Regions from separate parts of the Homo sapiens genome. Here region 2 is linked to region 1. The links are contacts of gene promoters, found by promoter capture Hi-C in human tissues and cell types (Jung and others, 2019). All regions are on one chromosome and are shown on one strand. The core of a region is centred on a gene start or on the middle of the fragment in contact, and the rest is flanking DNA. Distances in the headings are between cores, read along the strand shown. Region 1 holds the start of DYNLRB2 (dynein light chain roadblock-type 2). Region 2 has its middle 42 kb from the start of ARLNC1.

What was found. The method cuts DNA at HindIII sites, captures the fragments that hold promoters and counts their contacts. A contact is called where the count stands out against the background at its distance.
Region 2: a fragment that was not itself captured here is called in contact with the fragment with the promoter of DYNLRB2 in region 1 in 1 of the 25 tissues and cell types used here (dorsolateral prefrontal cortex).

Annotation. Positions count from the first base shown.
Region 1 is chr16:80,539,690-80,544,626 of GRCh38, forward strand. It overlaps DYNLRB2 (dynein light chain roadblock-type 2), which reads left to right and starts at 1,304. Exons shown (of 4, transcript NM_130897.3): 1 at 1,304-1,390; 2 at 3,587-3,662. The coding sequence starts at 1,388. All of the region lies in intron 1 of DYNLRB2-AS1 (DYNLRB2 antisense RNA 1), which reads right to left. RefSeq lists an enhancer at 1,355-1,444. The HindIII fragment of the contact is 10,411 bases long and covers 1-3,251 here.
Region 2 is chr16:80,931,746-80,937,244 of GRCh38, forward strand. No RefSeq gene overlaps it. Among named protein-coding and RNA genes, the nearest start is that of ARLNC1, 42 kb to the left of the region's middle. The HindIII fragment of the contact is 5,223 bases long and covers 1-4,540 here.

The sequences.
Region 1 (4,937 bases), core at 54-2,553:
AGTTAATATAATAAAATGACAGATGTGGAGTTGAAATGGATCATCGAGTCCAAGCCTGCCAATGAGTTCAAAACTGTCCCAGAGCACCCCTAACATGGACCATTCAGAATCCAGTTGACATTCCTAGCACGATGTATGCCTTGTTCAGTGTGAGACTACTTTCTGGAAATGGATGCACAAACAGAATCGGTATTACAGGAAGTTGTTATGGCATGATCCCTATGAAGATGCATTCCCAACTTACAGCTTGTATTTTGTAATCAATATTTGTCCTCCTCTAACCTCAGGAAGTCATAACACGACTCCAGCCATAAAATTTTCCTGCTGTGCTTCGTCGTACAATAGTGGCTCTTTTCCTCCTAGGCTATAAGGATATTATCAATGTCCCTCAAAAGGTCAAGTGACTTCTGATCATTCCTAACTGATCTTTAACGTGTTTCCTCCAACAGTTCCTTAAACACCCAATGGAATGCTCTTCTATGGCAACGTATAGAACCTCCGGAACTACCATTTGCAATTTTTTAGTAACTCAGAACTGTTGATTTTTAAAATGGCAAAAATACAGATCCTAATGGATACTGACAACTAACAGAAATACTGACAAGTAGCAACTCTTCAATGGAGTTGAGAACAGGAAGAGGGTGCTATAACTAGGTGAGAACATAAAATGTGCAACTGTGCTTACTCTACTGATCTTAGAGTAGACAGATAGAAAGTAATTTTTTTAAGTACATAAGGTTGTACTATTTGATGCTCTGATATATTTTTCTTCAATATAAAAACTACTGGGAGGCGAGCGAACAGTATCTGCCCTGAACAGGGCAGTACTAATGGACGGTCACAGGCAGCTAAGACTATCACCAAACCCCTAGAGCAGCCCAACCCCGAAGTCAGATGGTCCTGTCCCCTCCTTACTTGCTCCAGGGCAAGTATCACACGTGGACATTACTGCTTCCGGTACTGTTTCGTGCATTTTGTTTGGTGCATTTTGTCCGTCTCCCTGGCACCTGGTGGGTGGTGAATCAGCAGTTTTTGAACGAATAAGTGGTTATCACATTAATTCGTGCCTCAATGAATGAATGAATGGACAAACACAGGCCGGGAGCCTGACCCACTTCCCTCTTCCCTCCCGGGACCCACTGCTCCAGGATTGGGCGAACCTCAGGTGAGCGCCTGCTCCCCTCTTCCGCGAACCTTCGCCTACGGCGGCCGGGAGGCATCAGGAGCGCGGTCAGGGCGAAAAAGCCGACTCGCGAGCGCGCAGGCGCAGCCCTGACGCTTCCGTGGGGCCACTTCCTTTTTTGTCTCCTAGCAACGGCGGGTAGCGTTGTTGACATCCCGGGAGGCTGTGCCGCCGGCCTGAGCCCAGAGTTTCGCGGCCTCCGCGATGGTAAATCTGGGGTCTCCGTCCACGCCCCGCCGTTCCAAGCACGCCGACCGTCAAGGACCTTCGCACCCAGCTTCTGGGGCCCACCCAGGCACGGGCGGTCCAGGGGCCGCGGCGGAGGCTGGTGGCTCCAGGATCTTCCTGGAGGGGCGAGAGGGAGACCTTGGAAAGGGGCAAGAAGATGTCTAGATGACTGGAAGCTGTTTTGGGAATTGATTTCGCGGGGATGGTACATAAGGAGGGGTGATGTTGAGAAAGGGAAGAGAGAGATTCAGAGGATGAAGAATGCTCAGGGGAGTGAGAAATCCGGGGAGCCAGGAAAGTTTCCAAAGAGGGGGCGGGAGGCCGAGATGGAGAGGAAAAAAAATCAGACCCTTAGAGAGAAGGAAGAGGTGGGACAGGGAAAGCAAGGGAATGGAAGGGTGAGAAGGGAAGATACTGAGAAAGAAGAAAGGGAAATAAAGAAAAAGGAAAGAAGTGATGGGAGACCCGCCCCCCTCCCCCCCAGAAAAAGAGGTAAGAAAAAAAAAAGTAGAGACTGTGGAAAGCAAAGGGCGTTAAGAGAAGAATGAAACGGGGATTGGAGATGGGGATTAAGAAATTATACTAGGAGCACTTACAAATCATGAGAAGAGAAACAACTGGGTGGAGAAATGGAAAGGCCAGGGAAAGAAAAGAAAGGAGTTTGGGAGATAAGTAAAGGGAGAAAGATAAATAAGGACACAGTGGCTGTAAGAAGCTGTGGACATCGTCTTAAAGATTGCCCAAAATGCAGTGAATTATTGATCCCCTGTTCAACGCTTACGGTTTAGTGTAGTGTTTCTCAAAGTCAGATGCAAACATTCGTTGCTACATAAGATGGCCGAGAAATGCTAAATAAGAGTGAATCACATCGTGAGAAAGTTATTCCTCTTCCATTTTGTTCAACCTTCAGACTACATACAGGAGAAAATTTCTGTTGCTATTAGGTCCTTAATACCACTGTCATTTGGAAATTTCCATTTTTTCATCCGAAGAGCAGGCCTCAGGCTCAGAGCTTTCATTGCAGTAGAATTTAATGATAGGCTCTCTCTTCATTTTGTTCATTTTGTTTGTTTTACAGTTATTTCTATTTATGAGGAATAACGTCAGGTTTCCATTTGTGGTAGTGACATACGATTTCCTCTTAAAATGCATTTATTTAAGCTTTTAGCAGTGAGATAATTTAAAGAACACCTAGATAAATAGTATACATGGCATTCATAATGGCAAGAATCATGAATCTAGTACACAAATGCCTAAAGTCAAGAAAACCTTGGCTCTGATGCTGAAATAGAGAAAATAAGTGCTCCTGCCCATACCAAGTACAAAGGAAAACTATCTTGAAGTAACAAAATGTTCACCTGTGCAATACTGAGGAAAAAAGAATATAGCAAACCCTCATCAAGAGAATTTGCAGAATTCAAAATATCCAGTGATTGCTCAGTCATGAAAAATTTGCAGGTTTGGAAAAGATCGTTCTTGTCTTTGAGTTTTCTACAGGGGAAGAAAACATACAATACACTCTACACATAAGATTCCGAATGAGTTTAAAACACAATAATAGATTCCAGAATAATCACTCATAGTTGAACATTCAGCTTGCACTGAGACGCAAGCTATAGTTATCAAGAAAATCCTAGAATCCTGGAATACTTTGTTTTTATAGACTATCCTTTAAATTTAATCATCCGAACTGATTAGGTCACATTAATGAAAATAAGATTTCTCAATAAGGACTACTTTTAGACAGAGGGAGGCCATGATATAGCTCTATAAATATTTAAAGCACTGTAATGTAGAAAAGGAATTTTCATTTGAATACAGCAGGGTCAATGAATGAAAGATAATCTGGGACAAATTTCCATGCAATGTAAAGAATACTTTTCTAGTAAATGGAAACAGATAAAAATGGAGTGAACTCCTGTGAGGCAGTAAGCTCTCTGTCTCTACAAGGGTTCAAGCCAAGAGATTCATCAGGATTGTATCCAGGAGGTCTTACGTAGGTATTTATGTGGGACTTGACAATTTCTAAGCTGTCTTTTAAAAATCTGAGATTATCACACCTGGCACCTTAGGTTAAGGAGATAGGAGAGTAGGTATCTTGCTAAACATTATTCTCCTTAGGGTTGAAGTTACCACAGGGCCCTTTTGGTTAATTATCTTCCTGGTCTCTTTCAGGCAGAGGTGGAGGAAACCTTAAAGAGGATCCAGAGTCATAAAGGGGTTATTGGAACTATGGTTGTAAATGCAGAAGGTAAATATATCACAGGCTGTCTTCTTGACACACAGAAGCCAACCAGGAACCTGTTTGCCGTGTTAGTCCTTAAGACAAACATCTTCGAATTTGACATCAAAAATATATTTATATATTTTAGCTCTGGCATTCACTTACCAAACATCTATTGAGTATCTGTTATATGCCAAACACTCTGCTAAGATCTGGGGGCATAAATATGAATAAGACATGTCTAAAAATCTCTATATACTCCTAAGAAGCACTATACATTGTTTACTTTTTAAAGCTTTGGTAATTCTCTTCCAACATTTCAGAAGTGCCAATAAAACTATCATATAGAAGATAGGGAGAATATCATTGTTGGTGGGTTGTTTGCGTTTCAACATTATGAACCATACAGAATTTCAGTGTTTATTTTAAATGGAACTTGTTCCTTGAACATATTTTATTTAAAAATCTTTGAGAATTAACGATATCATTTATAATATAGTCTTTGTGGATATAGCATAAGAAGGCCCTACATATTTCCAACTATGAAATCTGTAGACTTACCAGAAACTTGCTCTTGCTGCACGATCCTTGTTAAGAATCCACATCACATTTACTTTGGCACATTGCTCCACGCTCAGCTATGGTGGCAACCTCTTAAGAGTTCATGCTAGTTTCATTGCTAATTCAGACATTTGTAAGGGCAAGGAGTGCCAGAAATTCCAGAGCATTAGTTAAAATAAGAGTAGCTACTTTACATAATTTGTGGTGCAACCATGGAATTGGCCTATTACCAACTCAGTGCCTTGGAAAAATCCATCAGTAAATATTTATTAAGCAACTACCAACTGAAAGTCTGCTTAAATTCTGAACTACAACTCCTTACCACTAAGAATGGACAATAACCTATTTTACTGGGGGTTTTCATTGTTAAATGAGACAATAATTGTTGAGTGCTTGGCATAATACCCAATACTTGATAGTAATTAAATAGTTATGAGAATGTGAGGATTTTTAATTCATTTATACAGTTAAAACATTTGTTTTATAACCAGCAACTCAAGGCCAAATGAGTGAGAGAGATAATAGAACATAATAAATTTTCGAGCTTGAATAATCAGGGGGAAGAGAGGATTTAAGATCTGCCTTCCAGGTAAGTCACAAACTATGCGTAATATTTCCAGGAAGCATTCCAGCCCTAGTACGTGGATCTGGTTGCATTGATTTTATTTCCAGGTATTTGCATACACTCTGCCACAGCTCCGAAGATGAGCCGTCCATGTGATTTCATAGAGATGGTGTGTT
Region 2 (5,499 bases), core at 679-3,178, 390 kb after region 1:
TTTTCCACATGTAAACTTTTCTACGTCCTTTGATTTCTTTGAAACAAGCACGGTATCTCTTTAAAAAGACAACAGATTGGTTGTATTATTAACTACTGCTACCAGAAGTGAATGGGCCAAGATGTTAAGAGGAGAGGAAAGGAGAAGAAGGAGGGGAGGGTGTCAGACCGACGGAGTTGGGGGGAGCAGGAGGCGAGAAAGGGGAGAGGAGCGAGAGAGAGAAGAGGGGGGCTCAAATGACGGAGAGAGCGAAAGAGAGGGCAGGAGGCGAGTAGGAGATGAGCCAGAGGAGAGGAGGACACTGCAGACCCGGGGGGAGGGCAAGGGCGCCGACCGCAGGCCGGGGAGGCTGCAGGAGACTGGGGGCCAGGGGAGCGGGGGAGTCGGCAGCGCCGCCTGGGACAGAGCTTGCCGCACGCTGACCTACTTTCTGGGGCCGATGTGTTTGCAGCCAGAGGTACCGCGGAGCCAAGCCCGGAGCCTCGGGGAGCCGCCAGCGAGCGCAGACTGGGAGGGAGCCGGCCGGGCTCCCCGCCACCCCTTCCTCCGCGCGCCAAGACCTGTCAGTTTCACCCAGCCCGGCTTCCCTGGAAAGGCGGGATCCCTCTGCAGATTTCCAGGCTCTTGGAAGAGGACCGGCGCGTCTATTAAACCCGAGTCGCTCCACGGGCTCTCCGCCCAGAGCACAAGCTGCCTTCCCCCGGGAACTGGACCTCGGCAGCGGCCTGCGCAGAGCCGGGCTCCGGGGCCCTGGCCGCTCTCGGGAAGGCCCCGCGGGTTCCCACCAGGCCAGAGGGAGAACCACCAGGAGGCCGCGCGCGCGCACACGCCGGGCGCCCTCCTCGTGCCGAGGTGGAAAGAGCCTGCGACAGGCAGGCCCAGGTTGTCATTTAGGCTCCGCCACTTTCCGCTCGTGTCCTTGGGCAAGTTACTTGACGCTTCCGAGCCCTATTTTTTTTCTCATTTTTAAGATGGAGAAAATGCCATCCACATCTCAGGGTCAAGGTGAGGATTATAAATAAAATAACGTGTGTGAAAGTGCCTGGCATAGCAGCCGGCACGTGGTGTGTGCTCAATAAAAATGTTAGTTCATCCACTCGGGAGGAAGCTGCTTTGCCGGCGCGTCATGACGGATCCAGGAGCCGGCCAACCGTGCTCTATGATCGTGACCGGGCTATGGCCATCGGTGAACGCTGGTCATAAGCGATTTGTGTCATCGTAGTGCCTGACGCCGGGAGACAAGCTTGGGGAAATGCCTTTTTTCTGAAACATTTCCTATGAAATAGTTTGGCCCCACGCCCACTAACTAAAGAATGAGGCTGGCAGGGCGTGGTGGCTCATGCCTGTAGTCCCAACACTTTGGGAGGCCGAGGCGGGCAGATCAGCTGAGGTCGAGAGTTCTAGAACAGCCTGACCAACATGGAGAAACCCCGTCTCTACTAAAAATACAAAATTAGCCGGGCGTGATGGCGCATGCCTGTAATCCCAACTACTTACTCTTGAGGCTGAGGCTGACGCAGGAGAATCGCTTGAACCCGGGAGGCGGAGGTTGCCGTGAACCAAGATTGTGCCATTGCACTCCAGCATGGGCAACAAGAGTGAAACTCCGTCTCAAAAATTAATTAATTAATTTAATAAAAATAAAAAGAAGGACGCTGTGGATTACTGGTGTAAATAAAAGTAATAAACACTTCAAAAGCGATTGCTATGATACAAACAGAGAGTGCCAGAGCTTTAGGTGAAATCACTCATGCAGCCTCTGGGCAGTGCTAGGGGCAGGTGCACTCACCATGCGGACAACTGAGGCTGAAATAAACGGTAAAGTAACAAGTGGATATTTGTCATTTTGGTGTCACTTGACACGTACTTCCTCTTCATAGGGTGAATATATTTATTTCTTCTGGAGAAATTCCTTGTCCCCACTGTGCCATCTTAGGTAGCTGAAAATCAGAGTTTCTTGCTCTCCCTGAGTCAAGAGTGGGCCCATGATCCCACAGGCCAAAGGGACCTTCTCTTCCTCAGGACTTGGAATCTTGAGGGGAACATGCAAGGACAGAATAAAACAATAACAATAATAATAACAATCATGGGGCATTTTCTTGCTAGTGGTGACACCCTGTCTAGGGTATCATTGCTTGCACACCACCACCCACAGCCTACAAGCCTCATGGGCCCCTCCAGACCCACCACCTCCAGACTCAGGAACCCAGATGAGGTCAGGACAGCTTCCATTTAATGTTCCAAGGGCACTAACATGTGAACTGTCATCTTCCCCTCAGCTCCAAACCTGCGCCTCTCCCAGCTAGTGCAGGCCACCACCGTTCATCCAGTTTCCCAGTGGAGAAAGCTGGGAATCATCCTAGACCCTTCTTTCCTCATCCCCATCCATCTGGTCCCCAGGTCTGTCCATTTTACCCCCTAAAGAGCTCGCAAGTCCATTCCTTCTTCACCTGCCTCAGGTCAACGCATCCCTTTTCTCCTGGAAGGTGGCACTAGCTTCTCAGATGCCTCCTGCCTCTAGGGCTTTCCCCTCCAAACCCATCTTCCACATTGTAGTCAGGGTGATCTTTCTAAATGCCTACCTAGTTATGGCAGGGGCTTAAAACTCTTTAGTACCCTGCCAATTGCCCCTGAATGAAGTCCAGACTCCACATCATGATAACAAGCTTTGCATTCCTTTCCACTCTGCCCCCATTCTTTGCATCTCCCAGCACTCCTACGCAAGCACCCTCCTCTAGCTACGTGAAATCTTTCACTGTTTCCTAGACACTCCTTGCCTTTTTTGCTCCTCTAAGCCTTTGCACTTGCTATTTCCTCCACTTAGAAGGACGCTTACCCTCACCTCTACCTAGAAAACTCCTCCTCATGCTTCAAGAATGAGCTCAAATATCCCCCGTTGAGAGAAGCATCATCTGACTCCCACAGGCAAAATGTAGCAGTCCTTTTGAGTTCCCTACTATACCTGCTCCCCATCCCTGCCGCAGCACAGACTTTACTGCACTGCCTTTACCCAATGACTTATGTCTCCATCTGTCCCCTCCACCCACTACACCAACTCCAGCAGAGTAAGAACTCATTCAGTGATCACTAAGGAAGAATGGCTAAGTACATTCTGGTTGGAGATGGGGAAAGGAGATGGTCTTAGGTTTGCTTTTCCCCAAGCAGATCATGGGAAACTGGTTTGAAATGAACTTCTTCACATTTCTGAGAGTGAATAAGGTATAAGCCTGGAACTGCTAGGTGCAGGTTTGGAGCTGAGGGGAAGATGACAGTTCATCTGTTAGTGCCCTTGGAACATTAAATGGAAGCTGTCCTGCTTCCTGTCCCCATGAGGAAAACACTGCCTGAGAATGGAGCCAAAACAAAGGAAGACGGTGTTAGGAGCTTGAGTGAGAACAAGTTCTGATGGCATCTGAGCCCACAGAGGTGGCTGTTCCTGAAGTCAGTCATGACTCTTGAACTTTTTAGTTGTAAGCCATTCCCTGTTTTTGCCTAAGCCATTTTGTTTTTGTTTTGTTCTGTTTTGTATGGGGTTTTTTTGGTGTTTTGTTTTTTGAGACGGAGTCTCACCGTGTTGCCCAGGCTGGAGTGCAATGGCGCATCTCGGTTCACTGCAACCTCCGCCTCCTGGGTTCAAGCAATTCTCCTGCCTCAGCCTCCCGAGCAGCTGGAATTACAGGCACCCGCCACCACGCCCAGCCAATTTTTATATTTTTGGTAGAGACTGGGTTTCACCATGTTGCCCAGGCTGGTCTCGAACTCCTGACCTTAGGTGATCTGCCCAACTCGGCCTCCCAAAGTGCTGGGATTACAGGCGTGAGCCACCACACCAGGCTCTGCCTATGCCATTTTGAATGCAGACTTTCCATCTATTGCGAGCAAGAGAATCTTCATGCTGCTAAAGCATGTTGAAATAAGAATATCCTTTTGAGAGAAAAACTTTAAAACTCATATGTCCTGAATCAAAATAGAAGTATGAGATCAACTTGAGGCAGAATAGCCCTTTGGAAGGCAAGACTGGATTGCAAAGACTTATTGAGAGCATATCTCATGCCAAGACTCTAAGTTACCTGACATAGAATGTGTCCAACAGAAGAAAGGCTGGTCAGACATGAGTGCCTGCACAAAAGAGGGTCATGGAGAAAGAGTTGGCAAGGCCCACGAAAGCACCAGCCAGGTTAACTGTTAAGTGAACACAGGTATAGAGTCTCCACCTGGCGCCCCAGGGCTGGCTTCCTGGAGCTTTATGAACCTCCTAAAATTGTATGTGTAATTAATTCTGCATTTTTTTTTTGAGATGAAGTCTTGCTCTGTCACCCAGGCTGGAGTACAGTGGCACGATCTCAGCTCACTGCAACCTCTGCCTCCTGGGTTCAAGTGATTCTCCTGCCTCACCCTCCTGAGTAGCTGGGATTACAGTCATGTGCCACCACACCCGGCTAATTTTTGTATTTTTAGTAGAGATGGGGTTTCAGCACGCTGGGCAGGCTGGTCTTGAACCCCTGACCTCAAGTGATCCACCCGCCTCTGCCTCCTAAAGTGCTGGAATTACAGGCACGAGCCAGCACGCCCGACCTCTGCATCTTTCTGAGGAGAATGTCTATAACTTCATTCAGATTCTCAAAGTGGTTCATTACACCTAGTAGGTTAAGAATTGCTAATGTCACAAGTGAAATTGTTTCAGGCATCCTAGCTGAGACAGTCTCTTAAAACCACCCAAATTCTTGCATATATCTCAGTCTCATTGCCACCCTCTGACAATCTGGGTTCCCAGGTGGCTCACCACCAGGAAGAGAATACAGGGAGCTACTGATGGGAGCACTTGGGTCCACCTGAGAGCTGTGGTTCTCATTGCAAAGTCAGATGCTGGGAGACAGGCGTGGGGAAATGCCTCCTTTCTGAAGCATTTCCCATGAAATAGTTTGGCCCCATGCCCACTAACTAAAGAACTATGCTGTGGATTACTGGTGTAAATGAAAATAATAAACGCTTGAAAAGTGATTGCTTGGGCAGGCCTGGGTTCAAGTATAACTAATCTTGGGGAATAATAACTAGGATTTGTTTAAGCCTACACTCCAGACGTTTTCATACGTTACCTAATCTCATCATCATAAACCTGAGAGAGAGAAATTATCATCTCCATTTCTACATGAGGAAATCAAGGTATATTAAGATGAAGACATTTTCTCAGGGTCACACAGTTGCCTGCTTTCCAAACCCATGCATTTTTCATGTTACCACCAACTACCGCAAGCCACGTCTAAGTTTTAGTGATCACGCACTGGTCTTTGTGGTAACCTTGAGTACCGTGCTGCTCTCTTGATGTTTCTACCAACAGACTCTGACTCTACCCTTCACAACAGGGTGTGTGAGCCCAGGCACGACTGGCTGGGATACCCTCCTGAACGCAGGGATTGACTTAGGGATGGCAATATGACCCAAGTCAGGCCCATCAGAGTTCTCCCCTGTGTTGCTGTGAACAGAGACAGCACAGAAAGC